4 separate regions of the Homo sapiens genome follow, and all the other regions are linked to region 2. Evidence: promoter capture Hi-C in 16 types of primary human blood cells and fetal thymus (Javierre and others, 2016). All regions are on one chromosome and are shown on one strand. The core of a region is centred on a gene start or on the middle of the fragment in contact, and the rest is flanking DNA. Distances in the headings are between cores, read along the strand shown. Region 1 overlaps RXRA (retinoid X receptor alpha). Region 2 holds the start of BRD3 (bromodomain containing 3). Region 3 overlaps VAV2 (vav guanine nucleotide exchange factor 2). Region 4 overlaps VAV2 (vav guanine nucleotide exchange factor 2).

Region 1 (4,585 bases), core at 914-3,413, 370 kb before region 2:
AGGGGGCAGGGCTGCTTCACGCCGCAGCAGGCGCCGGGGCATCTGTCCTTGGGGACACTCGGGTTCCTAATCAGCTCCATAACCGAGGTGGTGGGATGGGACCTGGTCCTGCCTTGGCCTCCCTTTGGGCAAACTCCTTCCTCGCAGGGCCTCTGCGAAGTGTGGGGACACAGCTCTGCAGGGGCTGCGGGCTCCCTCCGGGCATCTTTACAGAGGGGGCTCGCTGCAGAAAGGCAGGTAGAAAATGCCAGACTCAATGGCCTGCCCGCCCCGATGCTGTCTGAGTCCCTGCCAGGGGGCGGCTGTGCCCATCTGAGAATCCAGGGGACTGGGCTGAAGGCTCTATGTGGCCCTTCCCGATGTCTCCACGCCCCAGCCCCTTCCTCCTGAGGCCCCTGAGACTTCCCTGGCCTCCTCTGGTCACCCAGGTGCAGCTGTCCTTGGGCACAGCGATGACCCCTCCTCCGCCCTGAGTGTGCACTGCCTGCACAAAGTGCAGGGGCTGCCCCGTTCTCTCAGGATGTGCTCTCAGGATGCGCCCCATTCCCCACGTGCGCCCTTCCTCCCATCATGCTGTCTGCTGGCTGATGGCAGGGACGGAAGCACAGGGAGCTCAGCGGTGCCCATCCAGGAGCCATGTGTCCCTGCCCCCACCGCAGGTGCCTGAGCCCCTGCCCCCTCCCTTGCCTCTCAGTTCACAAACCTCCAGCCCACACTGGCTTGCTGTCGTTGCCTGAGAGTGACGGTGAAGAACTTATCAAGCCCAGCATCTCTGGTCCAGAGGGACTGCCCTGGGCAGGAGTCACCGTGGCAACCAAATGCCGAAGGGAGGCCCAAAGCTGGGTTGTCCTGCGATGCCGCGCCAGCCAGCAGCCTGGAGTTTCTGCCTGGCTGGTGGGAGCACGGGGTGGTGTTCGTGTCCCTGGAGGGGCACCAAACTCCCCCCACGCTCACCCCAGGAAGTCCCATAGTAACACCCTGCCCCATTATTAAAACAAGCACCAAGGCCCTGGGAACTTACGGGAAGCTTCCCCTTCCTGGGCTTCTCCCAGAGCCCCGAGGGGTCCGTGTCCTGCAACCACAGACCTCAGCTTTCCCCTTTTGTCCCTGCGCTCTGGCCTGAGAACTCCGAGGGCTCACTCTCACCCCAAGGACGGGTGTCCGTGGAGGCTGTGCCCAGAGTCCAGGGGGCCACCAGGGCACAGAGCCAGCTTCCAACCGCTGGTGTCTCACACAGCAGCACTCAGCCATGTGCGCAGATGTGCAGCAGGATGGGAGGCCTCTCAGCAGGGAGGCCACATCCCAGCTCCCGAAGCCCCAGGGCCGACCCCTTTTCCAGACCACGGAAGGGGCCCACGTGCTTCATGTGTGCAAGATTATATGCAGAGAACATGGGTGGGCCAGACTCAGCAAGCCAGGTCGGCAGAGGGCTGTGCCGACACAGAGGAAGCGGGTGGCCACTTCAAGGACTCCGCCCTCCCTCGGGGTCCATTCACACTTGGACCCCTCTGGAGAAGCCCAGGTTGGTCTCAGTGGGCAGAGCCGAGGCCCTGGCAGGGGAGGGTGTGAAGCCCAGGGAGGATCCTTTGGATGTGCAGCTGGGACCCAGGGGGGCTCCTAAGATGGCAAAGTGAGTCGAGACTCCTGTGGCACCCACCATTCAGCCATGGTTGGGGGCCCAGGGAGTGGCCCAGAGTTTCAGAGCACAGCCGCACAGCCGCCGTTCCCAGGAAGAGGGAGAATGTTGGTGTGGGGTCCTGACTCCACCAAGGGAGGCTGGCTCAGCCCCGCACCCAAGACCCCCACTGTTCTGTCGATCCTTCCAGGGCTGAGTGCAAGTGTGTATGTTCATGAGTGTGTGTGTGCACGGGAGCATGTATGGGTGTGTGTGCATGGGAGTGTGTATGGGTGTGTGTGCATGGGAATATGGATGTATGTGCATATGAAAGCGTGTATGGGTGTGTGCACGGGAGCGTGTATGGGTGTGTGCAACTGAGCCTGTATGGGTGTGTGTGCATGGGAGCATGCATGGGTGTGTGCAAGGGCAGCGATGGGTGTGTGCACGGGAGCAGTTCTGCATGGGTGTGCATGCCAAAGCATCTGTGTGAGCACGTGGTGTGTGCATGCGTATGAATGGGTGCGAGGGTCCATGTGAGCGTGTCCGTGCCCGTGTTTGAGTATGCACGTGTGTGAATGTGTGTGTGCTCATGAGGGGAGTGCCATCAGGAAGTCCCTGCCTTTCAGGTGGCAGGCCGTTCCATTTTAAGTCTCACCCGGGAGCCACCCTAGCTCTGGGCACAGGCCACACTGTCCTCTGCCCACCACCACAGGGCAGGACCTGGACCTTCAGAGCCCCACTCCCCATCTTCAGTGTGTCTGGTGCCTCTCGGGGAGGGTGCCTGGCTGGACACAGGTGCATGAGAGGGCTCCGGGCACGAAGACCAAACCAGGCCGGGAGCAGCCCAGCCCCAGACAGCATGGAGACAGAGGGCGTTTATCACAGGAGACAATGCAGATGGGGCATCATTAACTTGTTGTTATTGGGGCAGCTGGGTGACATCGTGTGTTCCTTGGCCCTCTGGGTGCACCTCCTGCCCATCTGGGCCAGCGTGGCTGCAGAGGCGTGGATGCTTAGGCAGCCTGGGGAGGGACAGGTGGGAACACTCGTGCTCCGCAGGCGCCCACAGGCCCAGTGCCCACGGCTGCTGAGAGGTGCCCTCACGGAGGCCCCAGCCCCCTGCCCCTTGGAGGAGCAGCAGAGCCCAGTGGACAGGGAGAGAACTCTCAAGAGTATGGCCCACAGAGGATGCCAGCCTCGCCGCACAGGACCGGCAGGTAGGGTGGACAGGAGGGTGGGCTGGTGGGGGCTGATCGCGGGCCCTCCCGCTCCAAACAAAAAAGTCCCCACACGGAACAAACGAACTGAATGGCGATGTATTTTAAACGCTCATATTTTGTTTCTCCTCTCACACTTCTCCCTTTGCGTGTTCCTTTTCCACAATTCTAATGCTACTGTCCATCAAACCCTGGCACCTGAGGCCACGATGTTTCAGAGACAATCGTACGGAGAAGCCACTTCACAGTCAGTCACAGGAAGGCCAGAGCCGGCAACAGGACACAACAGAGCAAGGCTTTAAAAATTACTCGAAAGGGAAGAAAACCCTTGAAAGCCTCAGGCCCACCCTCCTGCCCCGAGGGAAGACACCCCCATTGCGGCGGTTTCCTCCCAAGCCTCGCCGCCGTCACAGGAGCCCTCTCCTCTGCCATCGTCTGTCCTGGCGTTTCTCGGACGAAGCTTTCACCTCAATCTCTAGAAGCAGAAACGAAACAGTCCCAGCCCTCCCCCCGCCATATCCAAGTATACATGAGGGATAAAATTACATTTGTACAAAAATAGATTTTTTTTTTTTACCTTTCCAGATGCTTTAGACATTTTCTCTTATCTTTACTCTCTTTATGGATCTGTCATCCTCTCTAAAGTATTAGCTATGCGTCCCAGCTAAGGCATTGCTAAGGATTGGGAACGGCTAAAGCTGTCTGCTCCAAAGCATCTTAAAATAGATGCATCTCCTGCCTTGAGATATTCATTCGAACCCGGATTTCACCAAAGGAGGGTCCTTATGTACTTGCTTACACGAAGCAAATTTATAGGAAAACAGGGGAAACGTCTTGATTAAAAATAAACACAAAACACTGGTAACCGCTCCGCCTTTCCTGGGTGGCGCTGGTGTGCGGCTCTCTCCACACGCGTCTCTCTGTACAGCACATACATGTTTACACCACACACCTGCGTGGACGAGCACCAGATCACGCACCCCAGCTCCACGACAGGGACACCAGCCGACTACCCACAGGCTGCACATTCCGGCAGGGCCCTCCTGGGTGCCCCACGGGGAGGGGCTCGGGGTCATCTCCAGCACTGCCACCAGGCCGCCAGCCCAGAATTCTTGGGAAACACCGTGCTCGGAAAACCGAAGGTCAGGGCTGTCCTTCCCAGAGGCCGTGTGCTTCCAGGGTGCGGAGGGCCGGCGGCTGACACAGGCCCCAGGGTGGAAGGTCCTGGCAGGCCAGCTTCCAAGCATGCCCGACGCAGCCTAGGGGAGCCCGGCTCTGTGGCATCTTCACTCCTGAGCCTCAGGAGCCCCATCTGAACGGCAAAGCCGGGAGGTGACCAGCTGAGGAGCGTGCCTGAAGGTGCCGGGGTGCCCTGGGTCCCCAGGAAGCAGCCACTGGGAAGTGGGGGCCCTGCGGGGAAGCCGCTTCATCCAGCCGGGCCAAGGCGGGGACAGGCACAGGTGGCTAATGAGCTGATGTTAGTGCTATCTTTAGAAAATTAAAGATTGTCCCACCAAAATAATAATAATTACAAAAAATCACCTTAATTGAACTGGATTGGTAATACTACTACAGGTCTGGTTAAATAGAAATTCTACCTCTCTACTCAGTGATGAGCCGCACTCCCCACACATCACCTTTTCAAACCAACAGCACTGTACAACTACAAGGCCGATGAGAAAGGGACGGGAAGGCTGCGGGAAGTGCCCGGGACACGTAGAGCGGTGGGTAAGGCTGCTGTGGCCAGGGA
Region 2 (4,632 bases), core at 984-3,483:
CTGGGGGTCACCTTAGGGCAGTGGGAGGCCCATAAGGGTTGGGGGCATTTGGTCAGCAGCCTCAGACACGCTGGCTGGTCAGGGCAGCCTGCTGTGTGCATGTACCTGGGTTCCTTGAGGTCAAGACCAGGCGGAAAGGCTTTTTGTTCTAGCCTTGGGAGGAGTGCAGTGGGGTCTGTGTAAGTGGTGAGGTGGCCATCCTGGTGGTCAGAGTGCTCAAGATACCCAAGGAGATGAGATGCAGACAGCAGGAATGGGTTGCAGCCTCCAAGGTGGCTAACACAGAAGCCTGTAGGTTGAGGAACTGCACCGGGGGTTTGGGGACACAACCAGGATGGTAGTTCTAAGGGAACTGCCTGCAGATCCTCACCTCTCATATTCCCCCTCCCCGACCTTCCTGCGCCTGAGGACTGCACTTTGTCCATTTTGCCAACTAGAAAGGCAAGGCTGGAACCTCGTCCTAGAGCCTTGCCCTGGAGTGTGAGAAGGTCCTGGGCTCCCAGCAGAAACAGAGGGACAGGATTGGGAAAGGTGTTGGCTTCCCCTGCAAACTCTTCCTAAGACCCCGGGGCTTTGGGTCTCAGCCGTCCTGCAAATTGGCTCTGTGACCTTGGGCAGGACCCTTTGCCTCACTGAGCCTGTTTCCTTACCTGTCAGCCTGGAACAGAACACCTGCCTTCTGGGTGAGCATGGGGATGAATTGTCTCTGTGCTGGCACTCACTTTGTGAATATTGCATAGATGTGTGCATTTCAGGCAGTGGAGCTGCTGCTCAACTTGGAACACACCTGGGGACCCCAGGGGCTTGGGGTGGGTGCAGCCCACACAAGGAAACTCGACCTTGCAGTTGGCAGGTTCAGCAGGCACCAAGGAACCTCGTTTTGTTTTTGACGTTTTTATTGGGGTCTAATGTACACAACGTGTAACCACCTTAAGTTACAGCTGGATTAAAATTGATTTATGTGGCCGGGTGCGTTGGCTCACGCTTGTAATCCCAGCACTTTGGGAGTCCGCGGTGGGCGGATCATCTCACGTCAGGAGTTTGAGAACAGCCCAGTCAACACGGTGAAACCCCATCTCTACTAAAAAATACAAAAATTAGCCGGGCGTGGTGGCGGGTGCCTGTAATCTCAGCTACTCGGGAGGCTGAGCCAGGAGAATGGCTTGAACCCGGGAGGCGGACGTTGCAGTGAGCCGAGATCGAGCCACTCACTACACTACAGCACTCCAGCCTGGGTGACAAGAGCGAAACTAACGTCTCAAAAAAAAAAAAAAAAAACAAAAACCAAAAAAACAACAAAACCCCCCCCCCCACAACTTGATTTATGTGTAAACCCGAGTCGTCATCACCCAAAACAAGATGCAAAACGTGTCCACGGGCTGAACCTTTCAAGATACAGAAAAAGGGCCAGGGGTGGCCCTCTCCCGGAATCTCAGGCTGGGAACCTGGTATCTAGTTCCCGCCCCTCACTGGGCAGATGGGGAAACCGGGGCTTGGGGCGAGAAGGTCCCCAGGCAGAGCTGGGAGCACCCCTAACTCTTCGCCAGCTCTGGGGACTTGGCGCCCTCTCCAGCAACAGCGAACTTGGGCGCCCGCGCCCCAGCAAGTCGGGTGGGGGAGATGGTGACACGGAGGGCGCGGCAGAGCGCGGCTCCTCCCCGGGCGGGGCCGACCTGCCCGCGCGCACCGACGCCCCGCCCCCCGCCCCGCGCGCGCGCTCCCGCCAGGCTAATTAGGCGCGCGGTTTGTTTACAAACACGGGCTCCCGGCAGGTGCGCGCCGCCCCGCCCGTGCGCGGCCGGGGTTCGAGGGTGGCTCCCGCGGGCCTCGGGGTGCCCGGACGGGGGCTGCGGTGCTGGCTGCGTGCCCGCTTCTTCCATGCCGTCCTGGGGCACCGGAAAATCCGCCGCCAGGCGCTGTCCCCGACACGGGGTGAGGAGAGCCGTGCGGGCCCGGGCGGGGAACGGCCCACGGGGTCCCAGCGTTGTTGCCCTGCCGGGCGGGCGCCGAGCCCCGCCCCCGCGCGCCCCCCGGGCCAGGCCCGCTCTCGGCCGGGTCGGCGGGGCGGGCGGGGGCCCCCGGGGCGGGGCGCGGCGCCGGCGGGGCCGGGACATGTAGTCCGCGCGCCCGCGGCCTCCCCTGGGCGGCCCCGGCGCGGGCCCGGCCGCGGACTACGACTCCCGCCAGGCGCCGCGGCGCAGCGCATGAGCCCTGCTCGGCTCCGGCGCGTCTATTATGCTGCCGGGGCCGGCGAGCCAAAGAGGAGCCGGCCGCGCGGGCCGGGAGGGGACGGCCGCCGGAGCCGCGAGGCCAAGTACGCCTTTCTCTTGCTTCCTTGCGCGCGCGGGGCGGCGGGCGGCGCGGGCGGCGGCGGGCCGGGCTGGGCCGGGGAGCGCGGCCCCGAGCGCCCCGCGCAGTCCGCCGGCGCGTCCGGGTGAACCGGGCGCCCGGGGCCGCCGCCGCCGCCGCCGCCTTTGTGCGCGGCCACGATGCAACAAAGCGCGGCGGCCGCCCGGGGTCGCGGCGGCGGTGGCGGCGGCGGTGGCGCGGGCTCCGCTCCCCTCCTCCCGCTCCCGCTTGGCCGCCTCCGTCCCGGACTCGGGGCGTCGCTGCGGCCGGGGCGCGCAGCCCGGAGTTGGCGCGGCCCGCGCGCCCCGCGCCAGCCCGGCCTCCGCGCGCCCTCCCTCACGGAAGGGATTTTTTTCCCCCTTTCCTCCGCCCGCCATCTTTCGAAGGGGGAACCCAGGGAGGACGCGGAGGGGGAAGGTGCGCGCGGCGGCCCCGGCCTGCGGCCGTGCGCTCCGCGGGGCCACTTTCCCCGCGCCTGTTCCGCCGGCCTCGCTCCCGAGCCGTTGCTGGGGCCCGCGCCTGGGGACCGTCGCCGCGCGCCGCGGCCGGGGCGGGGGGCAAGGCCGGGCTCGGCCCTGGGCTCTGCGCGGCCTCCTCCCAGAGTTACGGGCCCAGAGCTGACTTTGAGCCCCCCTGAGTTGCCGGATTATTGCACCCAAACCAGGGGGAGACCCAGTTCCCGTTTTGAAATCAGCCTGAAAATCGCTTAATCCGGGCGAGGGCGAGTTGGAGCGGGAGGGACGGGGGTGCTTCCCCTCCTTCCCACTTTTGGGGGGCGCCGGAGTGACAACGTGATACAAGCCCATCCGGGGAGAAATGCGCACCCCGAACCGTGTACACCCACATGGCCCTGGTGGGCTCTCTGTGAATAAAGCTGGGGCGTGCGGGAAGTCTTATTCCACCGGTTGCTCGTTCGGGGGCAGGGCCGGGATGGGGGCTTCGCGCGGCCTCCTTTCCCTGGAGGGCGAGAACTCGGCCCGCCGAGACCCACCGGGGGCAGGGACCCGGCGTCCATCGTGTGGGTTCCTCCGTTCGACCCAATCCTTGAGTGGTTGCGATCTTTAATTTTGGTTGAAAGCTTTCTGCTCAGAAATAGATACTGGGATTTCTCCCCCTTACATTAAACTTGGTCATTGTCTGCAAAAGTTAACCAGGAGGGGAGACTGTAGTGCATTGGTGGGCAGAGTAATTGGGCTGGAACTGCAAGAGGCAGCTTCGTGTGTCCCGTCCTCCCCCGCCCTACCCTGTGAGAAGGAACAGAAGAGGAAAAGAGTTTTCTTTTTACCCTGCTCTTTTGTAGGCTTTTCCCCTTACTCTTTTCTTTAAAATGGAGGGTTTTTTTTTTTTCCTGGGTCCATGTAGTATGCCTGGGGAGATCCTGGAATCTATGCAAAGTTGTATGGCATTTTTCTGGGGAAAGTAGTTTGTTACTGGCTTCCAACGGGGTCTAAGGAAGGTCTGAACCCCTGCAAGGGGCTGGCCTCGGGGGTTAGGGAGCCCTCCCTCCGGGTTCTTCCCTGGCAGCCCTGATGCAGCCTCTCATTTGCAAATAAAGGTCTGTGTTTGCCGTTTTCTCTGTTGAGGCCTTGATGGGTGCTGGTGGTTACTGATCATGAAAGATAAGGCACACGCTGTAACAGGACGGGCTGCAGGCGAGCGAGGGGCATTTCTTTCTGACCTTCCGGGTAGCCTCAGAGGCCCGGTGCCTCAGCAGGGCACCGGGTGCCTGGAAAGACTGTGGGAGCAGCTCCAGCCTGAGCCCTGCCGTTGGGACATCCGGGGAGGAGGGATTTCAAAAGCTTTCTCCGAGTGGGCAGTCACTCCATTTTTATTTTTGTTTTGTTTTTAGAAAGTAGAGTAATTACTTTCCTTTGACAACAGCTCGCGCCTGCTTCGGAAGTGAGTGAGCTTTGAATGAAGGACGGGACTTGCAAACAGTGCCTGCCCTACACTCCGAAGTAGTCATACCCAGAAAGTGAAAGTGGGGGTGTGCAGAGCGAAGCAGCCAGGCCTGCTGCAGCCGGTGCTACCTTCCTCTACCCTCTTCCTCCAGGCTCTGGAGATGCCAGCCGCGGGAGCCCTGTGCACCAGGCGGCAGTGATGGCCTTGTGCGATTCCTGGTGCCACCAGGAAGTGCCACCACTTTCCCTGAGGCATGGTGGCTCAGGGTTTCCCAAGTGGGGTGATTGGCACAAAACCAACAGCTATGCCCAGTTGTCGATGGGAAGAGCCATGTTTTGCTGTGGATACACACGGTACCGGGGCGGGGTATGGGGAACCGGG
Region 3 (4,887 bases), core at 1,431-3,930, 270 kb after region 2:
AGGGCCACCCTCCGCAGAAGCCAGGCTACAGGCCCAGCTGCCCGCCCCGAGCCCCAGGCCGGGTGCCCTACGGCAAAGCAGCTCTCATGATGGAAAGAGAAATGGCCCAGAGGCCATGGTGACCTGGTCCCAAGAGCCTGCCCTGGGCTTCCCGGGCCAGGGGAGCCTCCAGACACCAACACACAGCCCTGCCAGAGAGCATATCACCAGGACGCTGGGTCCGGCCCAGCCTTGCAGGCCAGACTGTCAGCTCCTAGCAAGTTCACGGAGGCCTCAGTCTCCCTGCCTGAAGAGTGGGGCTAATCACCCCCATCTTTACAAATGGGCAAAAAAGTCATAAGGCTTGTCGGCAGAGCACCTGGCAGCAGCTGCCTCAGCGAGTGGTGGCTCTTGTCATCCTTGTTGTCACCAACATTGTCACCTGGTGTGGTTCTTCTTTGGGACTGCCCTGTCGGTGGGGTTATGGGGTTTTAAAGATGAAGTTTCAGGCTGGTAACCTAAGACCCTGAGGCTCCAGAGGCCGGGAACCCTGGGTTCCAGTTTGTAGAGATGTGGGCCCAGTGCAGGGAGAGGGAGAAGGTGTCGTGGCTAAAGAGACCAGCACAAGGCACTGAAGGGGGAATCAGAGTGGCCGGGAGAGAGCGATGCTGGGGCCAGGAGGAGGCGGTGGGCAGGACACGAGGGCTGGCTTCCTGGGCGTCCTCCCAGGTCCGGGGGCCACCTGGCTGCCTGCATCCCTGAAGACGGGGCTGTCACTGCTGTTGTCCCCTGCTTGTGGAATCCAGACACCATGTGGAAGCAACAAGGGTGACCCTTAGGGGTTCCCCACCTGGCACAGCATGAGGGTGAGCCCTGAGCCAGTGCAGGCCTCGGTGCTCAGGGCCTGGGGGCAAGATTCTGAGCCCTCCTGGGGTCTTCTTTCCTGGGGGGATGTCAGGGGCTTCTCTTTCCTCCAGTGTTGGCCCTTTTTGGGGGTGGGATGGGAGGTTGAGAGCTCCAGCCTGCATCCCAGCCGGGACCTGACCTAGAACCACCTGGGACTCAGGAAGAGCAGGGGCACCCCCTCTCCCAGCACGCCGGCAGCCCTCCTGCGGCCCGGTAGCTTCGGGAAGGGGAGAGCAGCCTCCTGGCCGTTGAATGTGTCCACGTGCAGGGAGCTGTCAGGGGAGGGGCCTGTTGGTTGCGCACCTACAGCCTGCTGGGAAAAATGGACGGGCTCACTGCAGCCCCGAGCTGCTCATTAAATCTGTGTGCGTGTGTGCGTGTGTGTGCACCGTCCAGGCTTCTGATCTACGGGGAGTACTGCAGCCACATGGAGCACGCCCAGAACACACTGAACCAGCTCCTGGCCAGCCGGGAGGACTTCAGGCAGAAAGTCGAGGTAAGTCCTGCCAGGCGTTGGCCCTGGCCCTGGCTCCAAGGTTGCAGCTTGCAGGCCAGAGCTCGTTAGGTACCAGCCTCTCTCTTGCCCATTTGTTGGGAAGGTGGTGATGGGGGTGATGACGTAATGGTTTTTTGTAGATTTTTCTTTTTTGCATTGTGTTGGGTTGGGGAGTGGGTTGGGTGGAGGTCACCATCCCAGGCCAGGACACAGTGAGACTCCCCATGGAGAAACGTCCTTGGGACTGAATCTGACTCAGCTGGGGGCTCTGGCTGACCCCTGATCCTGGCCTCTGCTGACTCCAGGGAGCCCCAGGTGCCATTTGCTGGGAACTGTGGGACCACCCACCCCTCATCCATCCTCACCCCAGGCCCAGGGCGAGTCTCTATCAACTGGGGGCTCTGACTGACCCCTGATCCTGGCCTCCGCTGACCCCAGGGAGTCCCGGGTAACATTTGCTGGGAACTGTGGGGCCACCCACCCCTCATCCATCCTCACCCCAGGCCCAGGGCAAGTCTCTGTCAACATCTAGTGTTTCTCACGTGAGCCCCTCCCAGCCCCTCCTGTTCCCAGCTGGAGTTTCCAGGCTCCATCTGGTTAGTACACCCTGGTTTCTGCGTGGAGCCTGGTGAAGAGCCCCCTGGCTCTAGCAGTGGTGGAGGCAGCGTGGCCCCCCAGTAGAGATGCACGATGCCCCCCAAGTCCAGTCAATGAATGGGGGAATGCCCTGGTTCCTGGGAGTGGCCCCACAGCTCAGTGCAAGTTGGTGCCCCACCTTGCTTCTCCCAGAGGCCAGACCAGAGAGGGGTTGGTGAATGGGGGATGGCCTGCTGCCCCTTCTCCAAAGGACCTTCTCCAAAGGACCTGGCCTGGCGGAAGAGTCAAGGCCACATCCAGACAGGCCCAGCAGGCGCCCCGAGAGGGTTTCCGTAGCATCGCACGTGTCTCACTGCGTCCCAGTGTGGCCAGTGCAGACACGGCAGGGTGGGAGCCATGTGTTGTGAAGCCCCCCCCTCTGCACACACCTGGTGCATGGACTGGTTCCGGGAGCCTGGCTAGAGAAGGGCCAAACGTCTGGGCCTGAGTTCTGGGCTTAGGTCTCCCCTCTCTGTGGGCGGGGGTACAGGTGGGTGGGTTCAGGCTTTCCTCGGGGAGGGCTCTCCCATCGCCCTGTCGCCCTCCCAGGAGTGCACACTGAAGGTCCAGGATGGAAAATTTAAGCTGCAAGACCTGCTGGTGGTCCCCATGCAGAGGGTGCTCAAATACCACCTGCTCTTGAAGGTGAGGCTCTGGGCCCCGGGTGCCTGCGGGGTCATCACTGCTGGAGTCAGATGAGGGCTGGCAGCTTCCAGGGGGTATAGGTTGCAGCCCACAGACAGATTAAGTTGAATATAGACAAGTCAGTTCATGCTTAGCTCATAATCACCGCTCAATGCATGTGATGGCCGATTATCACAGTAAATACACAGAGGAAAATGATGAGTCCAATCACTAAAGAGGTCAGAAAACTGAAAGAGACAGAAAAGCGTCCTCACACCAGGAATAAGAAAGCTACTGTGGTTGGTCTCTGAGCTTCCTGGTGGCCATGGCAGAAATGGACATGGAAGGGCTTCAGGAAAGCCAGACCTGGGAGGGAAGGCGGTGGTTTCTGCCCGGCACCTTGCGAGGCCCTTTTCCCGTGGAATGCTGGCACAGCGCCTTGCTTTTTGCTGCCTTCATGGCCCTTCTCACGGTCACTCCCTTCCCTTATCCACAAGGTTTGGGAGCGCCCCTGCCAAGAAGTGGGGTATCCCCTGTGGAGGAGTCACTCTCTGTCCTTTGGTGTCGGGCAGCCAAACCCAGCCTGGCTGGCGGGTGGGGGTGGCTTTCTTCTGAGGACTTGGTTCTGTGCACACCTCCTGCCCCAGGTAGGGGCCAGGGCAGAGGCCAGAACCCCCGAGTGGTAACACATGACACTCTTCTCACCCTTCCAGGAGCTTCTGAGCCATTCTGCGGAACGGCCTGAGAGGCAGCAGCTCAAAGAAGCACTGGAAGCCATGCAGGTGTGTGGGTAAACTGAGGCAGGGGAGAAGCCACCGTCTGGCTTAGCCCGTGTTCTTGGACTGGAATTGGGCTCATTAACGAGCCTCAGTTTTGACTGTGGACAGTTTCCTGGGACAGCAGGAGTTGGGGCAGGGCAGGGCAGGGCAGTGGGTGAGACCCACAGGAGGTAGAGGTGACGGGTGGAGGGCACTGCAGGTCAGGTGCCCCCTCAGGTGTCCCGAGTCCTAACCTCACCTGTCCAACAAGACCTCCCTTGAGCCTCCCCTCCCCCTGCTTTTCCCCCAGGCATTGGCCTCCATTCTGGGCTTTCTGGCCCAGTGCTTCTCACTCCCAGCACTGAGGCTTCTGCTTCTAAAATGCCACCTCCGGTGCCATCTCTCAGCTACCTGCCTGGGGAGCTCCTTCGCTCCTGGCTGTTTCGAGGGCCCCCAGCCAGCCATGCCTCCCTCTCTCCCCTTGTCCGGGTGAGCTCAGCTCATGCCACTCCCTTGCTCAGAAACCTTCCGTGGCTCCCTCTGCCCATGAAGCAGGCATGGGCTCCTCACTCTGGCACTCCCGGCCTTCTGCAGGATACTTGCCCCTGATGTCGCAGCTGTGTTCAGCACAGTTCCAGGCAGGTTTGATCCCTCCCAGGCTCCTGCACGTGCCCTGCACTTCCCCGGCTCCGGGTGTTGGCTCAGGTGCACCCTCCTCCTCGTCACCTGGCCACGTCCTGCTCATCCTGCCTTCACTGTGGACAGAACGTTTTCCAGGGAGGATCGCCCCCCACTGGGTTCTGTCCTCAGGGAACTGGCTTCCTCGTGGGTGGCACTCTTCCTCCTGGACACACTTGTTCGTGCCATCTCCTTCCCAGCCAGGCATGTGTCAGCCATAGTCACCTGTGTCCCCAGGCCAGGCACAGCACCTGGCATGTGGTAGGTCCCCTCCAGCTGCATCTGGGTGGAGGGATGACGACCCCCCCCACATCTCCCTCGTCGGGAGCACAGGACACCTCTGCCAGCCCCCCTCAGGGCTGCAGTCCTGCCCTCTGACACCTGGCCCCTGCCCTCTGGGCAGCCCCCCTGGGCTTTGGGCCCCCTTTTCCTTTCCCAGGTACCTCATTTAAGGAGCTCCCTCTGGGTGGGGGAGGGGCTGTAATCTGTCTCTGTCTATAGCTGCTGTTGGGCTGGGACGGGAGTGGGGCCAGTGCTTGGCCGCCGGTGCTAAGAGGTTCTCTGAGCAGGGCTTGTGCTCGGGGAGAAATTTACTCCAAATCCTGTGGGCACTCGTGTGTGGGCACGGGAGGTGGTCCCAGAGACCTTCAGATTCCCGCTCGGCTGCACTGGGCAGCGAGCACCCTGAGGAATGCTCCAGGAAAGCCTCCTGCCATGACGGGCTGACAGAACTTTCTCGGTGTCAGCTCTGCAGCCCCCAAGCCGCCCCTCTCCAACACCTGCTCTGGCCTGTCTGCTGTGAGCCACGGT
Region 4 (4,518 bases), core at 1,195-3,694, 290 kb after region 2:
TAGCTTCCCGCGGGAGCTGACATTAGAGCCGAATGTTTGTTAATGTTCAGGTTACAATGATGCTGTGGTCATTTTGTCATGGTCATTATCAGTCCATACTCGGTGATGGATTTCTTGTACCAGACCCTACATTCATGTAACAGGAGGTTCAGAGGGTGCAAAAGGCCATCTGAGCTGTGCAGAGTATCAGTCCTGCTCTGTCCCTCCCCGGGTATGACCAGGGCTGCCAGCTTCTTGGGGGGGCCTTGTGGAGGTGCTTTGGTGCTGTGCCAGGCCTTAGTGCTCTCATGTCTAGGGTGGGAGGCCCTGCACCTCCCTGCCCTAACTGGCTGCCGGGTCAGCTGAGGTTGGGAAAGAAGACATTGGCTCTCCCACCCTCCAGGAGCGGGATTGGCATACGCTGAGTCCGTCTAAATGGCCCCACACTCCCATAGGCCAGGCTCGGCCCCCTTGTCCTAACCATCTCTTTCCTCTGCCAGGGTCGTCTGGTACAAACCAGGAAGTCAGGGTATTTCCCCAGCTCATCTGTGAAGCCCTGCCCTGTGGATGGAAGGGTGAGTCCTTTCCCACAGAAGCTTCTGGAGCACGGTGGCCTGGGTGCTGAGGGTTCTGGGAGCTGCCTCCTCACGTGGACATTTTTGGCTTGTTCAGGACATCCTTGCTAAATTTAGGCTGCTGTGAGCTGCTTCCTGGAGCTGGAGCCCAGAGAGAAGATGGGTGGGGGGCTGTGGGGCAGCACGCTCTCCTCTGTTTAAAGGGCTCAGCCGATCGGGTGTCGTTTCGTTGTGGTTTTAGAAACACCAAAACAGGCATTTCTGCAGCAGCTGTAATGGGGTGAAGACCAGCCAGCTGCCTTTCACCAGATTTCGGGGACTCTATAAGATCTCTTGGACTATTGCGCAGCCTTAGAGAGAAAAAAAGGCTCCCCTCAAACATAAGGATTCAAAGCTAGACTTTATGCTATTTAAAACAGAGGCAATATGGTATTTCTTTCATCTGAGGGATATGGAGCGAATTCTCGGCTCTGTGATGAAAGGCAGCAGGCAGCCTTGAGTAAATGAGTTACCCCACCTCCACCCCGAAAGGACAGCTCAGAGTGAGAGCGTGGAACCTCTGAAGGTGCAGGGGTGGGTTCCCAACCCCACTGCGGCAGCCCCGGTGCTCCCCGACCCCAGCCCCAGTCCCGTCCGCCTGTGTGCTACCTCTGCTGAAAGGGCAGGTGCTCAGCACTTAGGGCACTTTGCGTGACCAAGGGGACCAGGCGGCAGGGGAGGACAAGGGTCACAAACTCACTAGGTGGCCTGGGGCAGGTTCCTTCCCTTCCCCAGGCCTCAGTTTCCCCATCTGCATGGTGAATAGGGTGCGAGGGAAGAGGTAGTCTCTGAGGCTGTGCCCAGCCTGTGGCCCAGTGAGGCCAGGGTGGGGGGCTGTAGCCAGGGAGGGAGCCCTACCTGCTCACTGGAGCGGCAGCACCTGCCTGAGTGTGGCCACCACCAGACCCCCACCCCGGGGTTTCCAGACCTCTGGAGCAGGGAGCTTGGCTGTGGGTGTCTCACATCCACTGGCTGAAAACTTCCCGCACCTTCGGTCCTTGCTGTCCCAGGGGATCAAGTCAGTGTTAGCTGGTGGCTATGCCGACATCTGTTCCATCAGACCCACGGGGCATCTACTCAGAGATGAGGTTGTCCTGGCCACGACCCTTGGGCACCTCCCAGGCCAGGGGCGCTGGGGCTAAGTCCACAGACAGTCCCCTCCAGGGCAGCCAATGTGGGGACAGGGCAGTCACTGACAATGACCCCCTCTGAGCCCTGCTCTGTGAGTGGCCCTGGGGGGCCGTTAACACTCTTGTGCTCTGCCACCAGCCGCCCATCAGCCGGCCGCCATCCCGGGAGATCGACTACACTGCATACCCCTGGTGAGTGGATCGTGGGCTGCAGACATGGGCATCTGGTGGCCTCTTTGTTATGGGGGCATGCCCGCCGGGTCTGGGTGGTGCCTGTGAGCGGCCCAGCAGGGTGGAGGCCCCAGGCTGCCTGTTGCCATCTCCAGGGCACTGAGCCCAGTGGCTCCCAAATGCCTTCTCCCTCCTGGCCTATAACTCTCCAGGAGCCTGGGGGAGTCCTTCTCCTGTAGGCAGCTGTTAACCCTCTCTAAAACAGCTCAACTGGCTCAGATATTTCAGGGAATTAAACCCTTTTTGAATTTTATCTGCACTATATAAAAGTGGTATATTTGAGGTCACAGGTGTAATCCACTTACTGACAATACAGTTGCTTGGTGGGAACAGTGAGGCTGTTTGAAATCACAGAAGTCCCAACTGTCCTGACAGTGTGGCAGCAGATTTTGGGAGAGAGCTTGCCTTGCCCTCTCAGGGTGGGCTTCATTGCAGTACAGGTGGCAGGAAGAGCTTCGTTTCAAAATCTGTTCAAAATTCAACTGACATGGATGTTGGCAATCTCCAATGTGTTACCAAAAAAATCCACATAAGCAGTTATGCCTTTACTGCTTTTGAAATAGTGAAAATATATTTTAGGAAAGAAATTGGATCTACTGAATACGCTGAACTCCTCTGGCAGGCCCTTGGGGTCTGTAGAGCAGAAGACAGCATGTGGGACTGGCTGGTGGCCACAGTCACCCCTCTATTTAACCCCTCTCAAGATCTGTCCTGAGCCTCACTGTATCCCACTGTAGGAAGGGTCAGATGCCAGACCCCATCCACAGTGGTGCCCCGCTCATAGGGACCCAGCCTGTTCTCTTGGGTTCATTAGGAGATGAGCTCTCAGATGAGGACTGCAGAGTACTTCATGTGGCCTGCCACGCACGGAGGGCTGGGCACCCCTCAGACACTGTCCTCACTGCGGCTCTCGTTTCCTCCCGGCCCCCTCCTGTAGGTTTGCAGGTAACATGGAGAGGCAGCAGACGGACAACCTGCTCAAGTCCCACGCCAGCGGGACCTACCTGATCAGGGAGCGGCCTGCCGAGGCTGAGCGCTTTGCAATAAGCATCAAGTAAGTGGCGGCTCTGGGCTCGAGGAGACCCATCCCCCAATGCCGTTCTGAAGTGGAGAGCACCATCCTCTCCACGTCCTGAGCTCGTGGGGTTGGGGTGGACATGTCATCTGTTGCCAAGTGAGGACATTATTGAGATGAAAGCGGTGCTGAGGGGTCAGGGGGTCTCTACAGGTGTGCTGGGCAGGGCCTGAACCCCTGGCATGCACAGATGGTCCATGCTTACATCACTCCTGGCTGCCCTGTGGGCTGGGTTGGACATTTCTGGGTCATGGGAACCAGATAAGCTCAGGTACAAGTGGGTGGGTGAGATCCTGTGTGAGCTCAGGGATTTCCCAGCAGCCCCACAGGTTGAGAGAGTGGACCTGTCGTGCTGCTCTGAGGCAGCCAGGGGCCTAGGAGGGTGTCTCCTGTGACTACTGCTGCCTTGCGGCTTTGGCACAGTCTGGGCATCCTCCTGCCCTATGCCCTCTCCCTGGGAGCCGCCTCCTTGTGGGGCTGCAGTTAACTCTCCAGGAGACCGACCCTGATGGGCTGGAGCCCACCAAGCACTGAGCTGGTGGGACATTGCCCACCTGAAAGAAATTCTCAGAAAGCCTTCTGTGTGCCTGGCCTGCAGGAGGCTAAGATGGGCCTTGCCGACCAGGAGCTGGGGGTAGGGCGCACACACTCATGGTGCACATTAAATCCAGGGAGAAACAAGATGGGTGCTGTATGAAGGCCTCACAGAGGACCAGGCAGCCAGGCCACCATTTGTTTAATGACTGTTTATTACATTAGCTGATTTCCAGATGTTAAACCAACCTTGCATTCCTGGAATGTCCCACTGGGTTGTGGTGTGGAGTCCTTGCTATGTGTCTGGTTTATGTAGATAAATACAGTCATCGGCCACATAATGACATTCCAGTCTGTGAGGGACCCCATATGTGGTGGTGGTCCCGTAAGATTATAATGGAGCTGAAATGTTCCCATGGCCTGGTGACATCATAGCGCAGCCCATTACTCATGTGAGTGTGGTTATGCTGGTGTAAACAAACCTACAGTGCTGCCAGTCATATAGAAGCATAGGACAAACAATTCTGCACATACATAGTATGTGATCATCGTAATACATGAATGTGTTACTGGTTTATGGATTCACTATACAGTGCTTTTTATTTTAGAGCATACTCCTTCTACTCAGCAAAAAAATACTTAATTGTAAAACAGCCTCAGGCACGTCCTTCAGGAGACATTCTAGAAGAAGGCATTGTTGTCTTAGGAGTAAAAACAACAACAACAAAGAAAAAAAACAGGAAAGCTTATAGAATAAGGATACAAAGAATAAAATATCTTTGTACAGCTGTGTAATATGTTTGTGTTTTAAGCTAAGTATTATTACCCAAGCTTCAAAAAGTTAACAAAAATTAAGAAGTTTATAAAGTTAATTTACGATTGAAGAAAGAATGTTTTAAAAATAAATGTAGTGTAGCCTCAGTGTCCAGCGTTGATAAAGTCTACAGTGGTGCAC

What was found. The method cuts DNA at HindIII sites, captures the fragments that hold promoters and counts their contacts. A CHiCAGO score of 5 or more calls a contact.
Region 1: a contact is called between a fragment that was not itself captured here and the fragment with the promoter of BRD3 in region 2, in 1 of 17 cell types (naive CD4 T cells). The highest score is 5.3, in naive CD4 T cells.
Region 3: a contact is called between a fragment that was not itself captured here and the fragment with the promoter of BRD3 in region 2, in 1 of 17 cell types (M1 macrophages). The highest score is 5.3, in M1 macrophages.
Region 4: a fragment that was not itself captured here is called in contact with the fragment with the promoter of BRD3 in region 2 in 1 of 17 cell types (total B cells); the score reaches 5.2 in total B cells.

The regions. Positions count from the first base shown.
Region 1 is chr9:134,438,917-134,443,501 of GRCh38, reverse strand. RXRA (retinoid X receptor alpha) reads right to left here. Exons shown (of 10, transcript NM_002957.6): 10 at 2,917-4,585. Among named protein-coding and RNA genes, the nearest start is that of MIR4669, 62 kb to the right of the region's middle. RefSeq lists an enhancer at 1-164. The HindIII fragment of the contact is 2,268 bases long and covers 1,030-3,297 here.
Region 2 is chr9:134,065,627-134,070,258 of GRCh38, reverse strand. It overlaps BRD3 (bromodomain containing 3), which reads left to right and starts at 2,233. Exons shown (of 12, transcript NM_007371.4): 1 at 2,233-2,314. RefSeq lists silencers at 1,628-2,357, 2,538-2,787. The HindIII fragment of the contact is 7,653 bases long and covers 1-3,429 here.
Region 3 is chr9:133,794,204-133,799,090 of GRCh38, reverse strand. It overlaps VAV2 (vav guanine nucleotide exchange factor 2), which reads left to right. Exons shown (of 30, transcript NM_001134398.2): 10 at 1,282-1,381; 11 at 2,567-2,662; 12 at 3,355-3,423. Among named protein-coding and RNA genes, the nearest start is that of SARDH, 58 kb to the right of the region's middle. RefSeq lists a cis regulatory region at 386 and an enhancer at 302-471. The HindIII fragment of the contact is 6,769 bases long and covers 1-4,887 here.
Region 4 is chr9:133,773,425-133,777,942 of GRCh38, reverse strand. VAV2 (vav guanine nucleotide exchange factor 2) reads left to right here. Exons shown (of 30, transcript NM_001134398.2): 23 at 480-554; 24 at 1,863-1,915; 25 at 2,892-3,008. Among named protein-coding and RNA genes, the nearest start is that of SARDH, 37 kb to the right of the region's middle. RefSeq lists a silencer at 2,811-3,037. The HindIII fragment of the contact is 3,733 bases long and covers 578-4,310 here.